Regions from separate parts of the Homo sapiens genome. Here regions 1 and 2 are each linked to region 3. The links are contacts of gene promoters, found by promoter capture Hi-C in blood cells and fetal thymus (Javierre and others, 2016). All regions are on one chromosome and are shown on one strand. The core of a region is centred on a gene start or on the middle of the fragment in contact, and the rest is flanking DNA. Distances in the headings are between cores, read along the strand shown.

Region 1 (3,820 bases), core at 74-2,573, 36 kb before region 3:
ATGGGAGAAAATATTTTCAAACTGTGTATCTGAAAAAGGTCTAATATCTAGAATCTATAAGAAACTTAAATTTACAGGCAAAAAACAACCCCATTAAAAAGTGGGCAAAGGACATGAACAGACACTTCTCAAGAGAAGAAATACACATGGCCAACAAGCATTTGAAAAACGGCCAATATCACTAATTGCCAGAGAAATGCAAATCAAAATTGCAATGAGATACCATCTCACACCAGTCAGAATGGCTAAGTCAAAAAATAACAGATGTTGGCAAGGTTGCAGAGAAAAGGGAATGCTTATACACTTGGTAGGAATGTAAGTTCAGCCACTGTGGAAAGCAGCTTGGAGATTTCTCAAAGATCTTGAAACAGAACTACCACTGAACCCAGCAATCCCATTACTGAGCATATACCCAAAGGAAAATAAATTGTTCTACCAAAAAGACACATGTATGTTCATCCCAGCAGTATACACTATAGCAAAGACATGGAATCAACCTACGTGCCTGTCAACAGTGGATTGGATAAAGAAAATGTGGTACATATATGCTATGGAATACTACACAGTGATTTTTAAAAAACAGTGAAATTATGCCCTTGGCAGCAACATGAATGCAGCTGGAGACCATTAAGTGAATTAATCCAGGAACAGAAAACCAAATACTGCATGTTCTCACTTGTAAGTGGGAGGTAAACATTGAATACACCTAGACACAAAGATGGGAACAATCGACACTGAGCATTACCAGAGTGGGGAGGGTGGGAGAGGGGTGACGGTTGAAAAACCAGTGGGTACTCTGCTCACTAACTGGGTGACAGGATCATTTATACACCAAACCTCAGTGACACACAATATACCCATGTAACAAACCTGCACAAGTACCCTCTGAACCCAAAAGTCAAAAAACAAACAAAAAGAATGGACTTAAAGGATGAAGAAAGTTTGAATCCACCATTTTTTACTTGTGTGACCTGTGTAGGTCATTTTGTATTATGGAGCCTTAGTTTCAATTATCAAGAAAGGGTAATAACTTACATCCTGATATGACAGGGTGAAAAATACTTCTGTAAGCTTTCTAAGCTTATATAGTGCATCATATTCAATATTACCTACTGATAATGCTAACCATAGACTTCTGCATTATCAATATGCTAAGTCAATGATTTTCAAATATATTTAACAAACAACTGGTTCTACAAAAAGTCTATATAAATTTCTATAAATGTGGCTATGTGTTTTATGTCTGCTCTACCAATCTGTGGTTCAACTCTAACTGTGCAACAGGGTTTGGGGAAAACAACACAATGGATTCCTGCTCTTCTGCAGCTGAAAGCCTTTCAATTAGACCATTTTTGTTTCAGTAAAATAAAAGCAAACAAAATTTAAATGGTTTTTGGTTTCACTACCACCACAGAAACCCACATCAAATTGTCAATAGATCAAATAAAGATGAATTCGAATAATTTTTATTAATTTAATATGCCATCTAATTTTTACCCTTTAGAGAACTATACTCTGACTACTATACTAGCTACCTTTCTGTGCTTTGAACTCACCTTAAGCTTGTTCCAGCTTCAGGCTCCCTGCACTTGCTCTTCCCTTACACAGCACTCTGCTCTCCTCTTCTTATAGCTCGTTCCTTCTTGTGGTTCTTGTCAATACCATCTCCTCAGGGAGATCTTTGCTGCCCAACCTTATGTTATCAAAAGTTGTCTGTACTCCCATTGCTCTATATCACATACGTCTATTGTTTTCTTTATATAGTTCTGACTGTTCGAAATTTTGTTACTTGTTTGCATGATTACTGTCTAGCTCCTCACTAAGATGTAGACCTTCATATCTTATTAACTGTAATCAACAAGAATAAAAACACCACCATTCTCCTAGTTAATTCAGAACTAGTCTGTTTACTTCTCTTGGAACTCTTTTACATATGTTCCCAAATTATGGACTATTCTGAGAATTAGGAGAAATGCTTACCTGTTGTTTGTTACTTTGGCAGGCTGCACTCAAATGCTTAAACCATAACATTGCATTCATTCTATTGCCAGCTTGAAACTTGTACGAATTTCCTAAAATTATCCAAAATAAGGGGGAAATATTAAAAATGTAAGGACGACACATAATAATTCTGCCAGATAATAATGAGCAAATTAAACATGACTAGAGTTTTCAGTTTTAGAATTCTATTCAACACCTCCATTTTATTGTATTTCCTATTTTTATTGTATTTCCAATACAATAAAGAGTTCTCGATGCAACACATTTACATGCTATCATATATTCAGAAAGTCACTTTTGCTGCTTATGAATTAGAAGAAATAATTTTGTCTCCTTAAATATTCTTTAGAATGAAATACACCTACATAAAATAACTGTGTGGCATCTCTAGATCTGTGTGGATAAGACTGCAGAATATTGGTTCTGAATACTTACTACTTAGATGATCTAAATATTAGATTTTTTTTTTTTTGAGATGGAGTCTCGCTCTGTCGCCCAGGCTGGAGTGCAGTGGCACAATCTCAGCTCATTGCAACCTCTGCCTCCCAGCTTTATGAGATTCTCGTGTCTCGGCCTCCCAATAAGCTGGGATTACAGGTGTGCACCACCATGCCCAGCTAAGTTTTTTGTATTTTTAGTAGAGACGGGGTTTCACCATGTTGGCTAGGCTGGTCTCGAACTCCTGACCTCAAGTGATGTGCCTGCCTTGGCTTCCCAAAGTGCTGGGATTGCAGGCATGAGCCCCCACACCTGGCCTAAATATTAGTAGATGTTAATGTTAAGTTTTAACATGCCAGAATGCTTCAATATGTTTAATACTTAAACACTAGCTATTCAGTATAATTAAGGATTAGTCATATAACATTGATAGACTATGCTTTTAGTCTTTAGTTACAAGATATTTGTCAATATTATTACAGATTTCCAGTTCTGTTGAGGGCTCTTGGGGAAAGTCTAGGAGGCAACTTTCTCTCTTTTAAGAAATTAGATATTCATTTGTGCTGTGTGTATTTTGTAATTTCTATATTGACTTTAATTCAAGACTGACATATAATGAGGATATTTTAAATGGTTATATGTATTAAGGTGAGAAAACAAATTGAGAAAAGAAAGGATCCATGTACTATAGGCTGCTCTAAATTAAGCTTTATTTCCTTTTTTCATTGACCTAAGTTCTTTTTATTTCACAATTTGTGCTGAATTCTATTCTTTCCTTAATAACTGCATTCAATGGCTCAAGAGCCTAACTATATTTAAGCATTATTCAGCTTTTCCTTGAGATTCTAACACTCAAAATAACTTTTTCACTTTCTGAAGTAATTGTTTCTTCACCAAATGTTTAGTCAAGTAACACCGTTACACTTGCTGAACTCAGACACAGACATTAGGTCAATGTGAAAAAAAGCCATATCTACAATAAAGCTGGCCACAGCTACAATTTACATACTCACCCCTCCCCCGCAAAAAACCATTAGTATAGATAGACTTCATAAAATTTTGGCTACCTGAAGTAGTTCTATTAGGCATGCTAAGAGAAACTGAAGAAAACAAAGAATCTGTTAACTAAATCCAATGAAAATGCTCTCATCTTGAAATGTAATTTCGTGAATTATGCCTTTGATATGGGAAGGAGGCTGGGGCTTTGAATTCAAAATTTTGAGTAGGCTTCTATACACCAACAATGACCAAACAGAGAATCAAATCAAGAATTCAACGCCTTTTATAATAGCTGCAAAACAAAACAAAACAAAAAACCACTTAGGAATATACCTAACAAAGGAGTCGAAAGAGCTCTACAAGGAAACTACAAAACACTGCT
Region 2 (3,939 bases), core at 335-2,834, 41 kb after region 3:
CACTTAAGGAAGTATCTGGATATGCAAAATATAGTTATGTGACATAGGGATAATGATAAACCTGCTCTTTATTTTCCCCTAAGTCAATCATTCAAAAACTTTGGTACAATACCAGGAGAAACAAATTACTTAGAACTCGTAACTAATCTTGCCACAGCTGAAACACAGAACTGTTATAACAAACTATAACATGATTTTGTAATTTTCATAATAAATCAATAATCAGATAAATAGAATTCAATCTGAGTTGTGGTAGGAGAGACTTGTTTCCAGAAGACTAGAGGAAGAATATGAATATAAAGAACTAATTAGATGTTAATATAGGTATTTCCTGAATGATAGCTCAGAAGCTCTATTAACTGAGAAGCCTTTTCTTTCTTCTTTTCAAATCTTCTTTTGATATTTATAATGTTATATTTAAAAAGTCTCTTTACTGTATTTTCCCCTCCAAAAACCGCTGGGGGTGGGGGGGGCGGGGCGGACAAAATACTTCACAGTGTTCTACTTCTACATGTCCTTGGCACCAAGAGCATGACAAATGGGGGCAAGCCTCTTCACACTTTCATTGATATTAATGAAAGAGGAGACCCACAGAATTCTAGATGTTCCTGACCAGATATCTAACACCACCTTACCACCACAATCTGTTTTGGGGGAAAACCTAGATGAATGCCCGCTCATGTCAGTCACCCCAGGAAACACAAACTCCCAGATTATTCCTCATCACCTTGGTTTGTATCTTCACACAATATGTGTGAATGTGTGCAACTGCATAAATGAATACTTTATCTTAGACCCGGGGTGCAGATTAATTATAATCTTTTGTTTGTGACACTCAATTATCATTAGAGCCTGGTATGGCTTTGTTAAATGGATTTAAACTTTATAACGAACACACATGACTCATCTTCCATCCAATTGCCTTGACTGCCTTTAAGAGGTAACCAGTAACCACTACTCTGAATGTTCTGTTTATCATTCCCCTCAAATTTTATTTCATTTTTGGCAAATTTTATTCCATTTTAACTTTTATTTCATTTTTAGTCTTTGGCAATTACTTTGTTCATATAACATTGTGATATTAAAGCTTCATCCATGAAGTTGTGGGAAGCTATAGTTCATTCATTTTCACTGCTTCTATGTGTATCCTCTCCTCTACAAAATACATTTATAATGTTAATTTTTCTATTTTTTTTCTTTTTTCGTTGTTAAGAGTTCTGGATGCAAATTCTTGTGTTGGACACATTCTAGTTGGACAACTAACTGTTGCACATATCTTCCGCCCACTGCATCCTCTTTTCCATTTTAAGGTATCTTTTGATGAACAGAAATTCTTACTCTAACATGACAAAATTTATTATTATTTTTTTCATTGTTGGAGCTTTCTGTATCTTATCTAAAAAATCCTTACTTATCCAAAGCCAGAAATCTATTCATGCCAAACCAGAGAGATATTCACATATATTTTTCCTTCTAAAAAACTGAAGTTTTTCATTTCACATTTAAGCCCTTGAGTCATCTCACAAGGATTTTTGTGAATGGCGCAAGGGGCCTGATTTCATTTTTTCCCCCAAACTGGTGACCAATTTTGCAGCTCCAATTAATAAACAGCCCCTCATTTCTTTACCAACTTACAATGCCACCTCTGTCATACACGTATCAGAATCCTGTAAAAACAAGGAGGTATTTCTGGGTTCTTCATTCTGTTTCATTGGTAGATATGTCTAAAACTGCAGGAATCATACACTGTCCAAGAATCTAGTATATCCTGACATCTGTTAGGCCAAGTGCTTATCTCCCCAATTCCCATTGTCTTCTTTAGCTATTCCTGAACCTTTAAATTTCCATATAAATTTTACAATCAATCTTCCACCAGCAGTACTGGGGTATAACTGACAAATTTAAATTGCATATACTTGAGGTGTACATGTTTTAATACACATATATAATGAAATTATTATCAAGCTATCAAGCTAATTAACATATCCATCATCTCACAAAGTTAGTTACTTCTTATGTATTTGTATGGTAAGAACATTTAAGATTCACTCTTTTAGGCTGGACACGGTGGCTCAAGCTTGTAATCCTAGCACTTTGGGAGGCCAAGGCAGGCAGATCACTTGAGGTCAGGAGTTCGAGACCAGCCTGGCCAACAAGGCAAAACGCCATCTCTACTAAAAATATAAAAATTAGCTGGGCAAAATGGTGGGCGCCTGTAATCCCAGCTACTCAGGAGGCTGAGGCAGGAGAATCACTTGAGCCTGGGAAGTGGAGATTGCAGTGAGCCAAGATTGTGCCACTGCGCTACAGCCTGGGTGATAGAGCGAGACTCCATCTCAAAAAAAATAAAAATAAATAAATAATAAATAAAATTTAAAAAGATCCACTCTCTCAGAAAAGTTCAAGTATACAACATAGTCTTATTAACTATAGTCAACTATAGTCCTCATGCTGTACATTAGATCTCCAGAACTTATTCTCTCTCCATTAGTGGTCCCTAACCTTTTTGGCACCAGCGACAATTTTTCCATGAACATGAATGGGGAAAGGTTTTGGGATGAAACTGTTCCACCTCAGATCATCAGGCATTAGATTCTCATAAGGAGCACACAACCTAGATCCTTCACATGCGGAGTTCACAATAGGGTTCATGTACCTATGAGAATCTAATGCTGCCACTGATTTGACAGGAGATGGACCTCATGCCGTAATGCTCACTTGCCTGCTGCCCACCTCCTGCTGTGGCCTGGTTCCTAACAGGCCATGGACCAGCACTGGTCAGCAGCCCGGGGTTTGGGGACCCCTGTTCTACATAACTGAAACTTTGTACCTACTGACCCAACATTTCCCCTGCCCCTCAGCAACCATCCTTCTACTTTTTGCTTCTATGAGTTCAGCCTGGTAAGATTTCACAGATAAGTGAAATTGTGCAGTAGCATTTGTCTTTCTGTATCTAGCTTATTTCACTGAGGATAATGATCTCCAAATTCATCCATGCTGTTGTAAATGTAAGGCTGAATAGTATTCCATTGTGTATATAAACCACATTTTCTTTATCCATTCATCTGCTGATGGACATTTAGGTTGGTTCCATATCCTGGCTATTGTGAATAATGCTGCAACGAACATAGGAGTGCAGATATCTCTTTGACATATCAATTTCAATTTCTCTGGACACATACTCAGAAATGGGATTGCTGGATCACATAATTGTTCTATTATTATTTTTGGGGGAATCTCCATACTGTTTTCCATGACTGTACCAATTTACATTCCCACCAACACTGTACAACAGTTCCCTTTTCTCCACATCTTTACCAAAACTCGTTAGTTATCTTTTGGCTTTTTGATAACAGCTATTCTAACAGGTGTGAGATGATATATTATGTGGTTTTGATTTGCACTGCCCTGATGATTAGCGATGTTGAGCACCTTTTGATATACCTGTGGGACTTGTGTATGTTTTCTTTTGAGAAATGTCTATTCAGATCCTTTGCCCATTTTTTAATTGGGTTGTTTTCTTGTTATCACATTGTCTGAGTTCCTTATACAGTCATGTGCTGCAAAACGACATGTCAGTCAAGAACAAACTGCATATACAACAGTGGTCCCATAAGATTATAATACTGTATTTTTTACTGTGCTGTTTCCATGTTTAAATATACAAATACCACCGTGTTATAACTGCCTACTCAGTACAGTAACATGGTGTATAGGTTTGTAGTCTAGAAGCAATAGGCTGTACCATATAGCCTAGGTGTATTGTAGGCTATGCCATCTAGGTTTGTGTGATTACACTCTATGATGTCTGAACAACAAAATCACCAAACAACACATTTCTCCGAAAGTATCCTCATTGTTAAGCCATGCATGACTGTATTTTGGATATTAACCCCTTATCAGATGTATTATTTGCAAATATCTTCTCCCATTCCATAG
Region 3 (3,636 bases), core at 983-3,482:
TCTTTTTCTTATGGATTTCTAATTTCTTAATGTATTGTGGACACTAATTTGTCAGTTAAATTTTATCTAGTCACCCTTCAACACACTAAATAATCTGAAATCTGTATGTATCACTTATTTTGGCAATGGCATTAATAACTTTCTCATTCTAAGTCTTAAAACATCTCTCTTGGTCTCCCCTCCCTATGTAATGTCTCTGCAGTATTGTAACCATTCTCGTCTAGTTCTCAGGTTTTCCCTACCTTGAACTTTCGTATCTTCCCCCTAAGCCCCCACCATTCTTCTTTTTCCTCATGTTTCTTGTAAGCTGGTTTCCTGGAAATTGGTATCATGGTCTGTCATTAACCTTCCTTTACATTCTACATGTACTTTCTCTAGTATCTTAGTTCCATAGCTTTAGCTACTACCTAATTGCTGGTGACTTTCAAATCTCTCCATATAACTGAGCTCCTGACTTTCATTTTCAATTTAACATATCTAACCATAATCTGTCCCTAAATACCTGTCATTCCAATTTCCTACCCTGGCTAGTGATATTACTAAGTGCTCAAGTTAGAAAGCTCCAAACTGCTGAAAGTTTAAAAGCTCAGAAAGAATTTATTATCTCTTATTTTTCCCAGATTTAAGCCATTAGTGACTACAACATAATTACTGAATGCTCAAGAAACGATACATAATACAAATCAGAGGCCAGAAGCTGGCAGCACATCTGTCCCAATGTTTTTTAAAATCAGGAAGTATTACAGGAAAAATCTAAATGGCTCTTTTTTCCTGAATAATGGGAAGATCTGGCAACACTGTCTCATAATCCTTCATGGCCACAAGCACAGCTGAGAAGGTGCAGGCAGATCCCTTTAAATTAACCAAAAGGATGCCAACTTGCCATAAACTTCATTTCCCTCCAGTATCTTACTACTGATTTACTTCACTGATTTATATTACCTGCTCCATTCTTCTTGTGAGCATTTGCCTTTCTAGGCCCTTGTGTTTGCAACCTCTGGTATACCTATATATGGCATAGGAATTCAAATAAATGATTCTGTGAAAGAGGTAGAAAATAAGCTCAGACTTTAAATAAAGGATGTGGATCAACAGTGTGGCCTAACAGAAAGAGAAACACAGCACAAGCTACAGCAATAAGGAAGGGAAAGCACAGGTATGTAGAGAAAGCCCAAAAGTTTTATCTAGAAGCAGCTTACAGCAACTAGGTAATCAATGACAGAGAGTGTGGCATAATGCTTTGGCATTAGATTCAAATCCCAGTTCCACTACTTAGTACTTAAGTGCTAAGCTAAGTTACTTAAGCCTAAGTTTGTGTTTCTTCAGCTACTGAGTTATTTAACATTTCTTCAATTAATGAAATACAATAGTATAGTTGTACTCAACACTTATTCATTTCTTCCACCACCTTATTTCATAGCAGAAGAACCTTGCCAGAGGCAGGTAAAGTGATTTGTCTAAGTTCACATAGCTGGCATAGAGTCAGAGCTTCCTTGTTTTTTACTCAGTTCAGGGTTATGTTTGTTTTTAAACCACACCACATCAATTAATAACAAGAATGACCTTTTACAGAGAGGAGAGGTCATTTTGTAGAATAGGAGGATATGACATTATGTAACACCAGAATGTAATATTTAAAAGTCTTAAGCATCTGAAAGAATTTCACTTATGTTTGGTAATTATATATAAAGGCTGTTTTATCTTAAGACACATTACACAGTAAGACATAACATACTACAACAACATCAAGTTTCTTGTAAGTTTAAAACCTTCATTAGCAACTTAGTAAAATGTTTACAAATTCTTCTAGGCTATAAAGAGTATTTATTACATTATTTAGGTGGCTGCCTCCTGACAAAGTCTAGCTCTTGTTCTTTGTTAACAAAAACCAAACTCATCAGCCTGCAACTACTTCTAAGTGAAGTGGAGCACTATTTTTTTTTTCGGTATTCAACTTAAAAGATCTCTGGCCAGCAGACTAAAATGTTTGTTTTATAATTGCCCGCTGAACTATGATAGTTTGTTTCCAGATGGTGCCCTTCCTTCAACCTGCACACAATCTCTCCTTGTTCAAAACTATTCAACCTCCTGCTGATCCCACCCCCCTATTTAAGGCTACAAAGAGGAAATCCTAAGGAGATTCCCGCCCCCAGTCTCCAGCAATTTTTGGTGATGTAATATGTGGGCTGAACTTGAGTCTACTGAGAAAGAGGGAATCACTATTCAGGGGTACTGTATATACAATCTGGGTCAGCTGCAGCTGGTTACTGCATTTCTCCATGTGGCAGACAGAGCAAAGCCACAACGCTTTCTCTGCTGGATTAAAGACGGCCCACAGACCAGAACTTCCACTATACTACTTAAAATTACATAGGTGGCTTGTCAAATTCAATTGATTAGTATTGTAAAAGGAAAAAGAAGTTCCTTCTTACAGCTTGGATTCAACGGTCCAAAACAAAAATGCAGCTGCCATTAAAGTCACAGATGAACAAACTTCTACACTGATTTTTAAAATCAAGAATAAGGGCAGCAAGTTTCTGGATTCACTGAATCAACAGACACAAAAAGGTATTTAATATTTCTTTTATTTAAAAATATTATGTATAGCAAATGCATAACTATTTTATATTTGTAGTAGAAATTTCAGAATCTTTTACTAAACAAAGACCTTTGGAATATACTACAGTTTATCTCATCTGAAAAAGGTTTTATCTTGCAACTTGACATAAAAACATTAAGTACTGTGCAATGGTTAATGCATTATTTGAGGTTCAATTTAATGATGTTTAGTGTATATGATTACAGACTGATACATGCATGCCATGCTGGGTTTCTGAAAACAAGTGCTTTAGTGACAGTAGAAAGAAATTTTAACAAGTAACAGATTAAATGTATAAGGCTTACAGCACAATGATTAAAAACAAAGGAATACAAACTAAATAGTCGTGAACACAATTAGTTTCTCTTCCTGCAGCCACAGTGTGTGTGCTGAAGATATACATAAACTGTTGGATTTCTCAGTGTAGTCATAAAACAAAGCTAAGATACAAAAATAGTTGAAAGTCTTTGCAACAAAATCTCAATTACAGTATAACCAAATATTAAGCAGAAATTCTTGTACAGATTTAAGATTAATCTATGGCATTTCTTGTTCCAACTCAAAATTTTAAATAGCTTTCCAGGCTTACATGTAATAGTAATTTAATTTGGATGACAGAAATTAAACTTGCTACAAATGGAATCACTTGGAAAAGCTAAGTTATTGATATACACACAAAAGCATTATGTAAGTGGTATTAACAATAGAAAATAAGAACCCAGAAGATGTAATTAAATTCATGACTAAAAGGCCAAAAATATGTAATATTTTAGGTAGAAATAATTTTGTTAAGCACACATAAGAGGTTTCCTTCAATATTCTATCTGGGAGCTTTTTTTACATGCATTATAAAAACTATTAAAGATAAAATTACTCGTTACCAATAGTATGCCTTAAACCAAAGACACTTAAGTTTGTTAGATTTGGGGCTCCTTTAGCCTTGTAAAAATTAAAGATATTAATGGTTAAGAATCTTGAACAAGCAAATAATGGTAAAGCTAAAATTTTTTCCAACTTTGCTTTTGTGTCCTTTCCTT

Evidence for each region. The method cuts DNA at HindIII sites, captures the fragments that hold promoters and counts their contacts. A CHiCAGO score of 5 or more calls a contact.
Region 1: a contact is called between a fragment that was not itself captured here and the fragment with the promoter of ANGPTL1 in region 3, in 1 of 17 cell types (total B cells). The highest score is 5.7, in total B cells.
Region 2: a fragment that was not itself captured here is called in contact with the fragment with the promoter of ANGPTL1 in region 3 in 1 of 17 cell types (total B cells); the score reaches 5.5 in total B cells.

Annotation. Positions count from the first base shown.
Region 1 is chr1:178,905,028-178,908,847 of GRCh38, reverse strand. It overlaps RALGPS2 (Ral GEF with PH domain and SH3 binding motif 2), which reads right to left. Exons shown (of 20, transcript NM_152663.5): 19 at 1,981-2,072. Among named protein-coding and RNA genes, the nearest start is that of ANGPTL1, 36 kb to the right of the region's middle. The HindIII fragment of the contact is 482 bases long and covers 1,083-1,564 here.
Region 2 is chr1:178,828,162-178,832,100 of GRCh38, reverse strand. The region is part of intron 7 of RALGPS2 (Ral GEF with PH domain and SH3 binding motif 2); the gene reads right to left. Among named protein-coding and RNA genes, the nearest start is that of ANGPTL1, 41 kb to the left of the region's middle. The HindIII fragment of the contact is 990 bases long and covers 1,090-2,079 here.
Region 3 is chr1:178,869,673-178,873,308 of GRCh38, reverse strand. ANGPTL1 (angiopoietin like 1) reads left to right here and starts at 2,232. Exons shown (of 6, transcript NM_004673.4): 1 at 2,232-2,568. The region is part of intron 8 of RALGPS2 (Ral GEF with PH domain and SH3 binding motif 2); the gene reads right to left. The HindIII fragment of the contact is 10,209 bases long and covers 1-3,636 here.